2 separate regions of the Homo sapiens genome follow, and region 2 is linked to region 1. Evidence: promoter capture Hi-C in human tissues and cell types (Jung and others, 2019). All regions are on one chromosome and are shown on one strand. The core of a region is centred on a gene start or on the middle of the fragment in contact, and the rest is flanking DNA. Distances in the headings are between cores, read along the strand shown. Region 1 holds the start of PAPLN (papilin, proteoglycan like sulfated glycoprotein). Region 2 overlaps DNAL1 (dynein axonemal light chain 1).

Evidence for each region. The method cuts DNA at HindIII sites, captures the fragments that hold promoters and counts their contacts. A contact is called where the count stands out against the background at its distance.
Region 2: a contact is called between a fragment that was not itself captured here and the fragment with the promoter of PAPLN in region 1, in 1 of the 25 tissues and cell types used here (hippocampus).

The regions. Positions count from the first base shown.
Region 1 is chr14:73,233,729-73,239,966 of GRCh38, forward strand. It overlaps PAPLN (papilin, proteoglycan like sulfated glycoprotein), which reads left to right and starts at 3,778. Exons shown (of 27, transcript NM_001365906.3): 1 at 3,778-3,864; 2 at 6,045-6,104. The coding sequence starts at 6,051. RefSeq lists enhancers at 2,051-2,623, 2,624-3,195, 3,769-4,339 and a silencer at 2,413-2,707. The HindIII fragment of the contact is 14,518 bases long and covers 787-6,238 here.
Region 2 is chr14:73,681,960-73,688,197 of GRCh38, forward strand. It overlaps DNAL1 (dynein axonemal light chain 1), which reads left to right. Exons shown (of 8, transcript NM_031427.4): 6 at 5,300-5,426. Among named protein-coding and RNA genes, the nearest start is that of PNMA1, 29 kb to the right of the region's middle. RefSeq lists an enhancer at 3,569-3,738. The HindIII fragment of the contact is 5,854 bases long and covers 663-6,238 here.

The DNA.
Region 1 (6,238 bases), core at 2,528-5,027:
AGCAACTCTCCTGTTTAAGCTGACTCAGTCCTTTTCTGTGATGTGCAACCAAGAACCGCAAGGGTTGGTTCAGGCCCTCTGAGAGCAGAGGCTGAGACGGGACTAGATGTGCGAGAGATCTACAGGGGAGCGCCTGTGAAGATGAATTGCGGGGAGGAGGAGGTGCAGGGGGAGTCTTCAGAACCTGGTGTGGGGCTGAGTGCAGCCACTGGAAGCTGGTCACCAGTTACACTTCTCAAAGCCCCTCTCTTGAGGCAAACCTTCAGGGCCACCATGAACCTCTGGTCCAGGGTATAACATGAAAATGGATCTCTGCCCTTGCAATGTTCACAATTATGAGAGAGAAAGAGAAACAACTACATCACTGCAGTAGTTTGAAAGTGCTAGGGCAAAGCCCGGCACCGATGGGAGTGCAGAGCCAGATGTACAGGAAGGCTTCCTGGAGGAGGTGAATCCTGGGAGCCCCGAGGCTCTTGGCATTTTGCCCTCTCTCTTCTCTCCAGCCTTCCATCCCAACCCAACCACACAAAGAGATCTGGCCACTTCTTTCTTAGCCTCATCCTTAGATCTGCAATCTGTGGAGATATGAAAATGTAGAGAATTGAGGATACACATGGCGGGAGCACAGGACAGAAATTTAACAAAAATTTTTTTAGAGACAGGGTCTTGCTCTGCTGCCCGGGCTGGAGTGCAGTGGTGCAATCATAGCTCGCTGCAGCCTCGACATCCCAGGCTCAATTGATCCTCCTGCCTCAGCCTTCCAAGTAGCTTGGCCAGTGGTACCCGACCTTTTTGGCACCAGGGACCAGTTTTATGGAAGAGAATTTTTTCAGGTCTGGGAGCGGGGTGGGATGGTTTCGGGAAGAAACTGTTCCAGTCTAAAGCCTGATCCTGTTCAGATCATCAGGCATCAGAGTCTCCTAAGGAATGCACACCCTAGGTCCCTTGCATGAGTAGTTCACAACAGGGTTCATGCTCCCGTGGGAATCTAATGCTGCCACTGACCTGACAGGTGGCGGGGCTCAGGCAGTAATGCTTGCTCACCTCCTGCTGTGTGCCCGTTCCTAACAGGCCATGGACAGGTACCGGTCCGTGGCCTGGGGATTGAGGACCCCTATCTTGGACTGCAGGCAACTGCCACCATACCTGGCTAATTAAAAAAAAAATTGTAGAGATGGAGGGTCTCACTGTGTTGCCCTGGCTAGTTTTGAACTCCTAGACTTAAGCAATCCTCCCTCCTCAGCCTCTCAAAGTATTGGGACTCCAGGCATGAGCCACTGCGCCCAGATCAGAACTAACTTTTATTCTGCATCTAGTAGGAATTTTATGGAAACCAGTTACTTCCCTACTCTACCACCTGCTGTATGAGTCTCAAGTGAGCAAGTTGTGGCTTAAGGAGGTGACCCGACCTGCCCAAGTACACACACAGTGAGAAGCAGAGCAGCCTTCCAGTCCAGGTCTGCCTCCGCCCCAGGCTACCCCAAACCCCCAATGCGAGGGCGTCTCAGGTGCAGACACTGAGTGGCATAGAGCCAGCACAGAGGGGACTTGACAATAGGAAGGAAGGTCTTACACTTTTTCCTGGAATCTTCTTTCTAAACCACCCTATTTTAATGCATCAGTTCTGTTCACATCTCTGTGAGGTAAGCAGAGGAGAAATGAGGCTTAAAGAGAATATTCCTGCCCAAGCCAGTAATTGCTAGGGCCTGGCTGGTGGGTCTAAGACAGTCCCTTACCACTGAGTGTGGGTTCTGCCTCCCAACCTCAGAGTCCTCTTTGCAGCTGGCGTGAGGCATAAGAAATCACAGCCCTGGGTGTCTGAGAAGAAAGGATCATAGGAAAAGCAGGGACACAGCAGGAAAGTGAGCTCCTTGGGCCTCAGCTTCCCCCACCCTGCAGCGGGAGAAGCATTTTCCTCCCACTTAACAGAGGACCTTTGACCAAGCTCAGAAAAGTCCCAGCTGGTGGGGGCAGGGAGTGGGGCTTGTTGAATGGAAGAAGCGCTTTTCCTCTTTAGAGAGGCTGCATGATTCCACTCCCCTTTCTCTGCCAAGCTTTATCTTTGCTTAAGAATTCACACAACTCCCCAGGGGCCCCGCTACAGCTGCTGCTCCTCCTGTCTTCATTGATAGGTAAGAAATGCACCTGATTTAAACTGATTTAAACTGGCCATGTTCTAATAAGCATTTTGTCCAAACAGGCAGCTGCTGGAGCCAGGGGGCTGAAGTGGGGCTGAGCTTCCCGCTGGTGACTTCTCTTTGCCCAAATGAGGCCAAGGGAGAAGTGGCAGGGCCAGCAAGGGGCTAAAGGCAGAACAGCGTGGGGGAAGGGGACCAGCCTTTGCCACCACCCCACCCCCAACCTCTCCCCAACTTCTTCCCCCCAACCTCCCTCGTGTCCAGGACCAGTTTCTAAAGATGAGTGAATTCCAGTTTCAAAAAAAGAATGGTAGGCAAAGAGTGTCTTGGTTGTGAAAAAGGACAACCAGGAAAACAAATGAAGTTGATCACATGCGTTGAGCCCCTGCCTTGATGCTAATTAGTGCCCTGGCACAGGTGGTGGGGCTGCATTGCAGGCCCTGCCCCCCGGGACTCACAGCTGAGCAAATCACAGCAACAGGGACAGAAACCGAGGGAGCAGGACATGCACCCCATCGGCCTGGGGTGGTGTGGAGACGGCTTCAAAAGCAGGTGACATGCTGGGCACGGTGGCACTTTGGCAGGCCACGGTGGGAAGATTGCTTGAGCTCAGGAGTTCGAGACCAGGTTGGGCGAGACCTTGTTTCTATTTAAAAAAAGAAGAAGAAGGCTGGGCGCAGTGGCTCACGTCTGTAATCCCAGCACTTTGGGAGTCCGAGGTGGGTGGATCACCTGAAGTCAGGAGTTGGAGACCAGTCTGGCCAACAAGGTGAAAACCTGTCTCTACTAAAAATACAAAAATTAGCCAGGCATCATACAGACGCCTGTAATCCCAGCTACTAGGGAGGCTGAGGCTGGAGAATCGCTTGAACCCAGGAGGCGGAGGTTGCAGTGAGCCAAGATCTAGCCATTGCTCTCTACCCTGGGCAACAAGAGTGAAACTCCGTCTAAAAAAAAAAAAAAGAAAAGGAGGGAGGAAAGTAGAAAGAAAGAAAAGAAAGAGGAAGAAAGGGAGGGAGGAAAGTAGAAAGAAAGAAAAGAGGAAGGGAGGGAGGGAAAGAAAGAAGAAAGTGAGGGAGGAAAGTAGAAAGAAAGAAAAGAGGAAGGGAGGGAGGGAAAGAAAGAAGAAAGGAAGGAAAGTGACATTTGACCAAGGTTTTGAGGGCTGACTACGGGTTTGAGAGGTAGAGGGGATTGGGAGAGCGCATTCTGAGTGAGAAAACGTGCTGGGAGATGGGTAACAGCAGCGTGTGCGGAGAAACTCAGTTGCGGCTGAAGAATAGGATCCAGGGGTGGAGAAGGTGGTGGCTGGACACAGGTGTGTTGTGTGTAGGATAGGCATGAAGAGGAGCGGATAGGGCAAAGCTAGAAGGCTTGGGCAAGGGGAAATGGGATTGGAGAGGTGACTGGCGCTGACCCAAGAGAGGACAGACGGGGTGACCAGAGTGGAGGATGAGCCAAGCCTTGGCACAGACCCAAGCGGGTGGAGGCCCCGGGCAACACCGGTCACCACGAGGGCCTCTACGAAGGGCTCTGTCCTCCCACGGGGATTGGAGGTGGGTAAGTGAGACAGGGCGGGGTGGAGGGTGAGGCCAGGCAGCGGCGGAGAGAGAAAGTCCCACCCCTGCGGGCGTTCCTTGCGGCCCGGCCGACCTCGCGGGCTTGGGCCTGGGCGGGCACCGACGGAGCGGCCCTGGCTGCAGCCTCCCGGCGCCAGCGAAGACAGGTAGGGAGGCGGAGGGACTGGAAGCCCCCGGGCGCCCAGCGGCGGGGACCCCGCACCCCGGGGCTTCTGCAGGAATTTGCTCGCCTGGCTCACGGCGACGGGGGTGTCGGAGAAAGTGGGGGCCGCAGAGAAGACCCCGCCCCGGCTCGCTCTCCGGAGGTGGGCGCAGGGTCATCGCTCGGCACCGCGCGCCCCCCGGCCTGGAGGAAAGGAAATGCAGAGAGCCGGGGAGCTGGTGCGGGACGGCCCCGGCGCGCACCCTCCGCCCGCTCGGACCTTCCCTTCAGGCGAATGCCGCTCCCGGCGCGTGGTACAAGCGAGGCCCTGGAGACCGTGCGCCCCTCCCGGGAGGTGCCACTGGGCCGCGGGCCTGGAGCGTCCGGGAGCCCCAGCGGCTGCCGGCACCTGCGCGGCCACCCCGGGCCTCCCGTGGGAACCGCGCCTCTCCGCCTCGGGGGTGCGCGGCGCGTTCCTGGGGTGGGGACGCGGGGTGCCTGGTCAGGGCTGGACCGATGCAGAGGGGGGCCGTGGGCGGGGGCCACGGGGACGGGCGTCTGCGGACTGCGGCGGTCCCGGAGTCGGCTGGGGACCCTGTAGGGGGAGGCTTGGTCGGCGGCCACCCGCCTTCCCGCCCTCTGGCGCCTAGGGTCGCCGCCTTCGGCCCTAGCTCAAGGCAGACGCGTTCCCCGGGAACAACACGTTGAGGGCGCCCACCCTGCGTGCCCGGGGCCACCCGGTCCCTGCCCTCGGGCGGCAGGAGAGGTCGAGCTTCCACGGCCCTCGGAGTAGCCCCGTGACCAGACCCGGACTGGCCTTGGAGTTGAAGGGGTTGTTTGCCACCAAATGAACCGAAAAAACTGAACTTTTCAGACTTCGGAATGGCAGATATGGGCTTGGAGTTCAGTGAAATTGCAGCGGAGGCGGTGGTGTTCTGAGTAATTACAAGTAAAATTCTTCTTTCACCCGTCTTTTCCTCAGCCTCGCCCGCCCTAGCAGGCCTAGCCTGGCCCTAGCAGGGGGCTCCTGCTCTGGGAGCTGCCCCCAGCAGAGCAGAGGCAGGGCTCTGGCAGCAACCCCCTTCCCTCACCCTCCAACCCCAGGAATCTCGAACTTGACCACGAAAATAATGACTCAATGACTCACTGTGCCAAATTAACGAGTGTGTACATTGTTCAGTATGCCAGGTTACATTTCTGCTGAGCTTGGCTTCTGTATGCTGTCTTTTATCCTTGTAAGCAGAAGTCATTTTATATCTTTAAAAAATTAGAACATTGGTAGAATTACAGATTTTAAAGTTCAAACCTGCACGCTAGTACTTGTTTAATGTTTTGTACTGAAGGGCGCACATTGTTTATGTCATTCTGCGATACAGCGACATGTATGTACACATACACACTGCACAGCGTGTATACCGACTGGACACCTGCACCAAATAGTACACACCAGACTGCACATGGACCCGCCCCGCACACTGCACATGCACTTTGCATGCATGCACACATCAAACCACAGACACTCCACACACACTGCACTGCACACTGCCCTGAGCACACTACACTGTACTGCACACTGCACTGCACTTTCAGGGCTCACACGCTGCACCACGCACACTGCACGGCGCACACTGCACTGCATACACACGTTGGTTATGGAGGCTGCTTATGGAGCTTCCCTGTGCAGAGAAATGCTGGCTTGGGTTTTAAATGGGCTACAATTAACACTTTTAGAGCATTTGGGTTTTCAAAGTGTCTTCAGAGACTTGATTTTTTTAAAGCCTATATTAGGAGTTTTTAAACATCTGATGTAATAGCTTTTTTAAAAGGAATCTTGCTGAATTAAAAGTGAGTCTAATTACTCGGATTCTGAACTTGTTTTTCAACCACATAGAAGTATTTTTAATTGCTCTCTCTTTTTTTCCCCTCTGGAACTCTGAAACAAGTTGTTCTTGAACTTCTGCCAGTTGCGGATGGGCCATTCCTTTCTTGCTCACATGTTGAGCCGCCCGGCGGGGCGCCCTCACGCTGTGTTCTCTGCGGTGCACCGAGGCGCACCCGGCTGTCCTGTTGCGGGTCTCCTGGTCACCTGTGGGCCATAGGGAGAGACGCGCCCACACACTCTCGCCCGCGCCCAGGACAGCTGCGGGAGCCCCGGGCCGCTCTAACCCAATGCGTCTCCCGCAGGCTGAGATGCGGCTGCTCCTGCTCGTGCCGCTGCTGCTGGCTCCAGCGCCCGGGTCCTCGGTGAGTGCGGTCCTGCCCCGGCCCCCGGAGGAACCTGCAGGGGAGTCGGGGGCGGGGACGCGCGGGCCCGCAGGCAACGTCCCCAGGAAAGGGGCGATGTCAGGGAAGCTGGGCTGGGAGGAGGCGAGCCCGCA
Region 2 (6,238 bases), core at 2,340-4,839, 450 kb after region 1:
AAATTAGCCAGGCGTGGTGGTGCATGCCTATAATTCCAGTTACTTGGAAGGCTGAGGCAGGAGAATCACTTGAACCTGGGAGGCAGAGGTTGCAGTGAGCCGAGATCGCACCTTTGTACTCCAGCCTGGGCAACAAGAGCAAAACTCTGTCTCAAAAATAATAATATTGTTTTTATTTCTTCAATAAGAAATTAACCTTAGCTTACTGTAACTTTTTTTTTTTTTTTTTGAGATGGAGTCTCGCTCTGTTGCCCAGGCTAGAGTGCAGTGGCTCAATCTCAGTTCACTGCAACCTCTGCCTCCCAGGTTCAAGTGATTCTCCTGCCTCAGCCTCCCGAGTAGCTGGGATCACAGGTGCTCACCACCATGCCTGGCTAATTTTTTTTTTTTTTTTTTTTTTTGTATTTTTAGTACAGATAGGGTTTCACTGTGTTGGCTAGGCTAGTCTCGAACTCCTGGCCTCAAGTGATCTGCCCGCCTTGGCCTCCCAAAGTGCTGGGATTACAGGCATGAGCCACTGCGCCCGGCCAACTTTTTTAATGTTAAAAACTTTTCAATATTTTTTTAACTTTTTGACTTTTTTGTAATAACAGCTGGAAACACACATTGTATAGTAGTATAAAAATATTTTCTTTCTTTATTTCATTATTCTATAAGCTTTCTATAAGCTTTTTTCTATCTTTAAATTTTTAAATCTTTTTTACACATTTTTGTTAAAAATGAAGACACAAACACATACATTAGCCTAGGCCTACCCAGAGTCAATATCACTGTCTTCCACCTCCACATCTTGTCCCACTGGAAAGTCTTCAGGGGCAGTAACACACATGGAGCCACCATTTCGTATGACAACAGTGCCTTCTTTCTAGAATACCTCCTTAAGGACCTGTCTGAGGCTGTTTTATAGTTATTTTTTTTTTTTTTTTTTTTTTTTTAGTTGGAGTTTCGCTCTTGTTGCCCAGGCCAGAGTGCAATGGCACAATCTCGGCTCACCGCAACCTCCACCTCCTGGGTTCAAGCGATTCTTCTGCCTCAGCCTTCCGAGTAGCTGGGATTAGAGGCGTGCATCACCACGCCCAGCTAATGTTGTATTTTTAGTAGAGACAGGGTTTCTCCATGTTGGTCAGGCTGGTCTCGAACTCCCTACCTTAGGTGATCCGCCTGCCTCGGCCTCCCAAAGTGCTGGGATTACAGGCGTGAGCCACCGCGCCCAGCCTACAGTTAGCTTTTTTTTAATAAGTAGAAGGGGTATATCTTAAATAACTATAAAAAGTATAGTAAACACATAAACCAGTAATATTGTCATTTACTATCATTATTATGTACTATACATAAGTGTATGTGTTATGCGTGTGTATGGCTGGTGGCTCAGTAGGTTTGTTTACACTAGTATCACCACAAACTTGAATGCCTTGTGCTACCACATTATGACTGCTGGGATATCACTAGGCAATAGGAATTTTTCAGCCCTATTATAATCTTATGGGACCACCATTGTATATAGAGTCAATCATTGATGAAATGTTATGCATTGCATGACTGTATATATTATTGTTAACTATAGTTAACCTGCTGTGCAATAGAACACCAGAGCTTATTCTCCTACATAATTGTAACTTGGTACTCATTTACCAACTTATTCCCATCCTCCCCTCAGCCCCCCACCCCCCTCTCCAGTCTCTGGTAACTACTGTTCTGCTCTCTACTTCCATGAGATCAGCTTTTTTTATTTATTTATTTATTATTATTATTATTATTCTTTTGAGAATAACAAGTTCACTCTTGTTACCCAGGCTGGAGTGCCATGGTGTGATCTCAGCTCACTGCAACCTCCACCTTCCAGGTTCAAGCGATTCTCTTGCCTCTTCCTCCCAGGTAGCTGGGATTACAGGTGCCCACCACCACACCTGGCTAATTTTATATGTTTAGTAGAGACGGGGTTTCACCATGTTGGTCAGGCTGGTCTCAAACTCCTGGCCTCAAGTGATCCACCTACCTCGGCCTCCCAAAGTGCTGGGATTACAGGCGTGAGCCACCGCACCTGGCCGAGATCAACTTTTTTAGATTCCACATATGAGTGAGATCATGCAGTGTCATTCTGTGTCTGATGTGTCACTTAACATAATGTTCTCCAGGTTCATTCACATTGTAACAAATGACAGGATTTCATGCTTTTTTATGGCTGAATAGTATTCCATTGTGTGATATACCATATTTTCTTTATACATTCATTCATTATTGGACACTTAGGTTGATTCCATATTTTGGCTATTGTGAATAGTGCTGCAGTAAACATGGGAGTGCTGATAGCTATCTCTTCGACATACTGTTTTCATTTCTTTTGGCTATATACCCTGTAGTGAGATTGCTGAATCATATGGTAGTTCTATTTTTAATTTCCTGGGTAATTTATAGTTTTTGTTGCTATGATGCATTTCTCTTTAACACCCTTCCTGTTTATATTAAATAATATAAAAGCCATTTATTTTTGTATACTTAACATGTAATCAACTACCTACCAACAATTCTTAACTGTTTATAAATCACATCCCCACAACAATTTTCAAGCAACATTGTGTTACCTGGATTCATTACTTTATACAGAGCAATAATCATCATCATCATCCTCATTACATATAGTCTAAAATAGAGGTCAGCTGGGCATGGTGGCTCACGCCTATAGTCCTAGCACTTTGGGAGGTCGAGGCAGGATTGCTTGAGGCCAGGAGTTTGAGACCAGCCTAGACAACATAGTGAGACTCTTGTCTCTACAAAAAAAAATTTTTTTAAATTAGCCAAGCATGGTGGCACGTGCCTGTTCTAACTACTCAGGGGGCTGAGGCAGGAGGATCACTTGAGCCCAGGAGTTCAAGGCTGCAGTGACCTGATTGTGCCCTGTACTGCAGCCTGCGTAACAGATCGAGACTCTGTCTCTAAACTAAAAAACAAACTAAAAAAATAGATTTTATGGCATTTCATAAAGCTCTCCCACTTCTGTAACCTCCAACATGATATTATTTACAGAGTAGACATTTACTTTTTTGTTTTCAATACTTACAATGGTTTGTTGACCTTAAAAAATCATAAATTTTAATAGCTGAGAGGAACCTTAAAGAACTTGTCCAACTTCCTCATTTTTTCCAATGTTTTTTATGGTGGTGAAATATACATAACATAAAGTTTACCATCTAAAACATTTTTAAGTGTATAGTTCAGTGGTAGTAAGTAGACTTGCACAACCATCACCATCCATCTCCAGAACTCTCTTCATCTTGTGTGTCTGAACCTCTGTAAGCATACAGTAGCTTCCTACTGCCTCTTCCCTGATCCCTGGCACCCACCATTCCACTTTCCGTCTTTACGAATTTAACTACTCTAGGTATTTCATATAAGTAGTATCATACAGCATTTATCTTTTTGTGACTGGCTTATTTAACTTAGCGTAATATCCTCAAGTTTCATCCATGTTGTAGCGTGTGTCAGAATTTCCTTTCTGCTTAATTTTTTTTTTTTTTTTTGAGACTGAGTCTCACTGTATCGCTGAGGCTGGAGTGCAGTTGCGCAATTTTGGCTCGTTCCAACCTCTACCTCCCAGGTTCAAGTGATTCTTCTGCCTCAGCCGCCAAAGTAGCTGGGACTACAGGCATGTGCCACCATGCCCGGCTAATTTTTTTATATTTTTATTAGAGATGGGATTTCACCATGTTGGCCAGGCTGGTCTCAAACTCCTGACCTAAGGTGAGCCGCCCGCCTTGGCTTCCCAAAGTATTGGGATTACAGATGTGAGCCACTGCACCCAGCCCATTCCTGCTTAATGTTAAATGATATTCTATTACGGTATGTATATACCATGTTTTGTTTATCCGTTTGTCTATCAGTGGACACTTGGGTCACGTCCATCTTTTGGCTATTGTGAATTTGCTACTGTGAACATGGGCGTACCAATATCTCGAGATCCCACTTTCATTTCTTCTGAATATGTGCCCCGAAGTGGAATGGCTGGATCCCCTGTTAAGTGATATCAATTATCATATGATAATTAATTTTTTAAGGAACGGCCAAATTGTTTTCCATAGCAGCTGCACCATTTTACCTCCCTGCCAACCGTGTACAAGGTTCCAATTTCTCCACATCCTCACTAATACTTACTATTTTCTGTGATTTTGATAGTAGCTATCCTAATGGGTATGAGATGGTATTTCATTGCGCCAGTCTCCTCATTTTACAGAGTAAGAAACTGAGGGGAGAAATGGCTTGTTTACATGCAGAAGCTGACCAGTTTGCTAAATGACTGTTCAGTTATTGTCCAATTCTCGAAAGAGTCAGCTTATTTAATGACAGATTTCACTGAATTGATTCACTCAAACTTTGCCAGGTTTTCCTCATTGATATTCACTAGACTGCTTCACAAAAATCTTGTCTTTATTATCTACTTAACAAATACTTACAGGAAATTGTATTATTGGCTGGGCACAGTGGCTCATGCCTTAATCCAGCACTTTGGGAGGCCGAGGCGGGCAGATCCCTTGAGTCCAGGAGTTCAAGACCAGCCTGGACAACATCTCTACAAAACCCATCTCTACCAAAAAGACAAAAATTAGCCAGATGTGGTAGTGTGCACCTGTAGTCCCAGCTACTAGGGAGGCTGAGGTGAGAGGATTGCTTGAGCCCGGGGGAGGTTGAGGCTGCAGTTAGCTGTGAGTGTGACACTGCACCCCAGTCTGGGTGACAGAGTGAGACCCTGTCTCAAAACAAAACAAAAAACAACTTTTTTATGTTTGAAAATCATCATAATAAATGTTGGAGAAGACCCTGAATTTTAGACCTAGCTCTATTATTTAATAGTGTGTTCTTAGAAAAAGCCCTTAATCCCTCTGTAATAGAAATCAAATAACCTGCCTTATCGGCTTTAAAGCAGATGTTCTAAGGACCAAATAATATACTCTATAGGAATGTAATTTGAAAACCGTACCATTAATGAACGAGATAAGATAGTGCCATTATTTCCCCTCTTGGTGATTTCAGTATTAGTAACGTATTATGTTTTGTGATTTTTTTTTTTTTTTAGTGGAGCAGTCAGAGAAGGAAGAGTTCAGATTAGTTTGAAGAAGGGAATGGAATGTTCTACTTAGCTCCCTCAATGAGAAAAAAAAAACCTCCCACACAACTACTAGCTCTTCTACAAGTAGACAGGCAGGGTCTAAGTTCACTTTGGAAGCCATTATGTATATCTTTATAAAGAAGAAGACAGAAAGAAAAGCTTAAACATAAACATAAATCAAATTTTGTTCTTTTTCAGGAGGCAGTAGGGGACACATTAGAAGAACTGTGGATCTCCTACAATTTTATTGAGAAGTTGAAAGGGATCCACATAATGAAGAAATTGAAGATTCTCTACATGTCTAATAACCTGGTAAAAGACTGGGGTAAGCTGAGAGTGGCCCTTTGCTAACCTTCTACCGCCTGTTTATAGAAAATAGTCCGAGAGGGAAAAGATGCAAAACGAGAACGTTTATTTCTAAGCACAGAGAGAAAGTGGAAACATTTATGGCTAAGCTCAGAGAGAAACAGCAATAGGAGTTTCTAAATTTTAAATGCTTAACATTTATATTTAAATATTTACTTAGGATGGACCGGGCGCGGTGGCTCACGCCTGTAATCCCAGAACTTTGGGAGGCCGAGGCGGGTGGATCACGAGGTCAGGAGATCGAGACCATCCTGGCTAACACGGTGAAACCCCGTCTCTACTAAAAATACAAAAAAATTAGCCGGGCGTCGTGGCGGGCGCCTGTAGTCCCAGCTACTCGGGAGGCTGAGGCAGGAAAATGGCGTGAACCCGGGAGGCGGAGCTTGCAGTGAGCCGAGATCGCGCCGCTGCACTCCAGCCAGGGCAGCAGAGCAAGACTCCGTCTCAAATACCTAACGTTAAATGACGACTTAATGGGCACAGCATACCAACATGGCACATGTATACATACGTAACAAACCTGCACGTTGTACACATATGCCCTAAAACTTAAAGTATAATAAAAATAAAAAATAAAAAAGTGAAAGAACTTGAAAAAAAAAATTAGGATGAACGTAATCTGATAGGTCCTGGTCCTATTAATCATGAAAAAAATTTAAGCTATTATCCAAAGGCTGAAGTAATCAGTTTAAATTTAATACTTCAAAGGTAGAAGACTTATTTGATATCTATGTTACTTTGCTTTTTTATTGTATATAATTCATTCAGTTA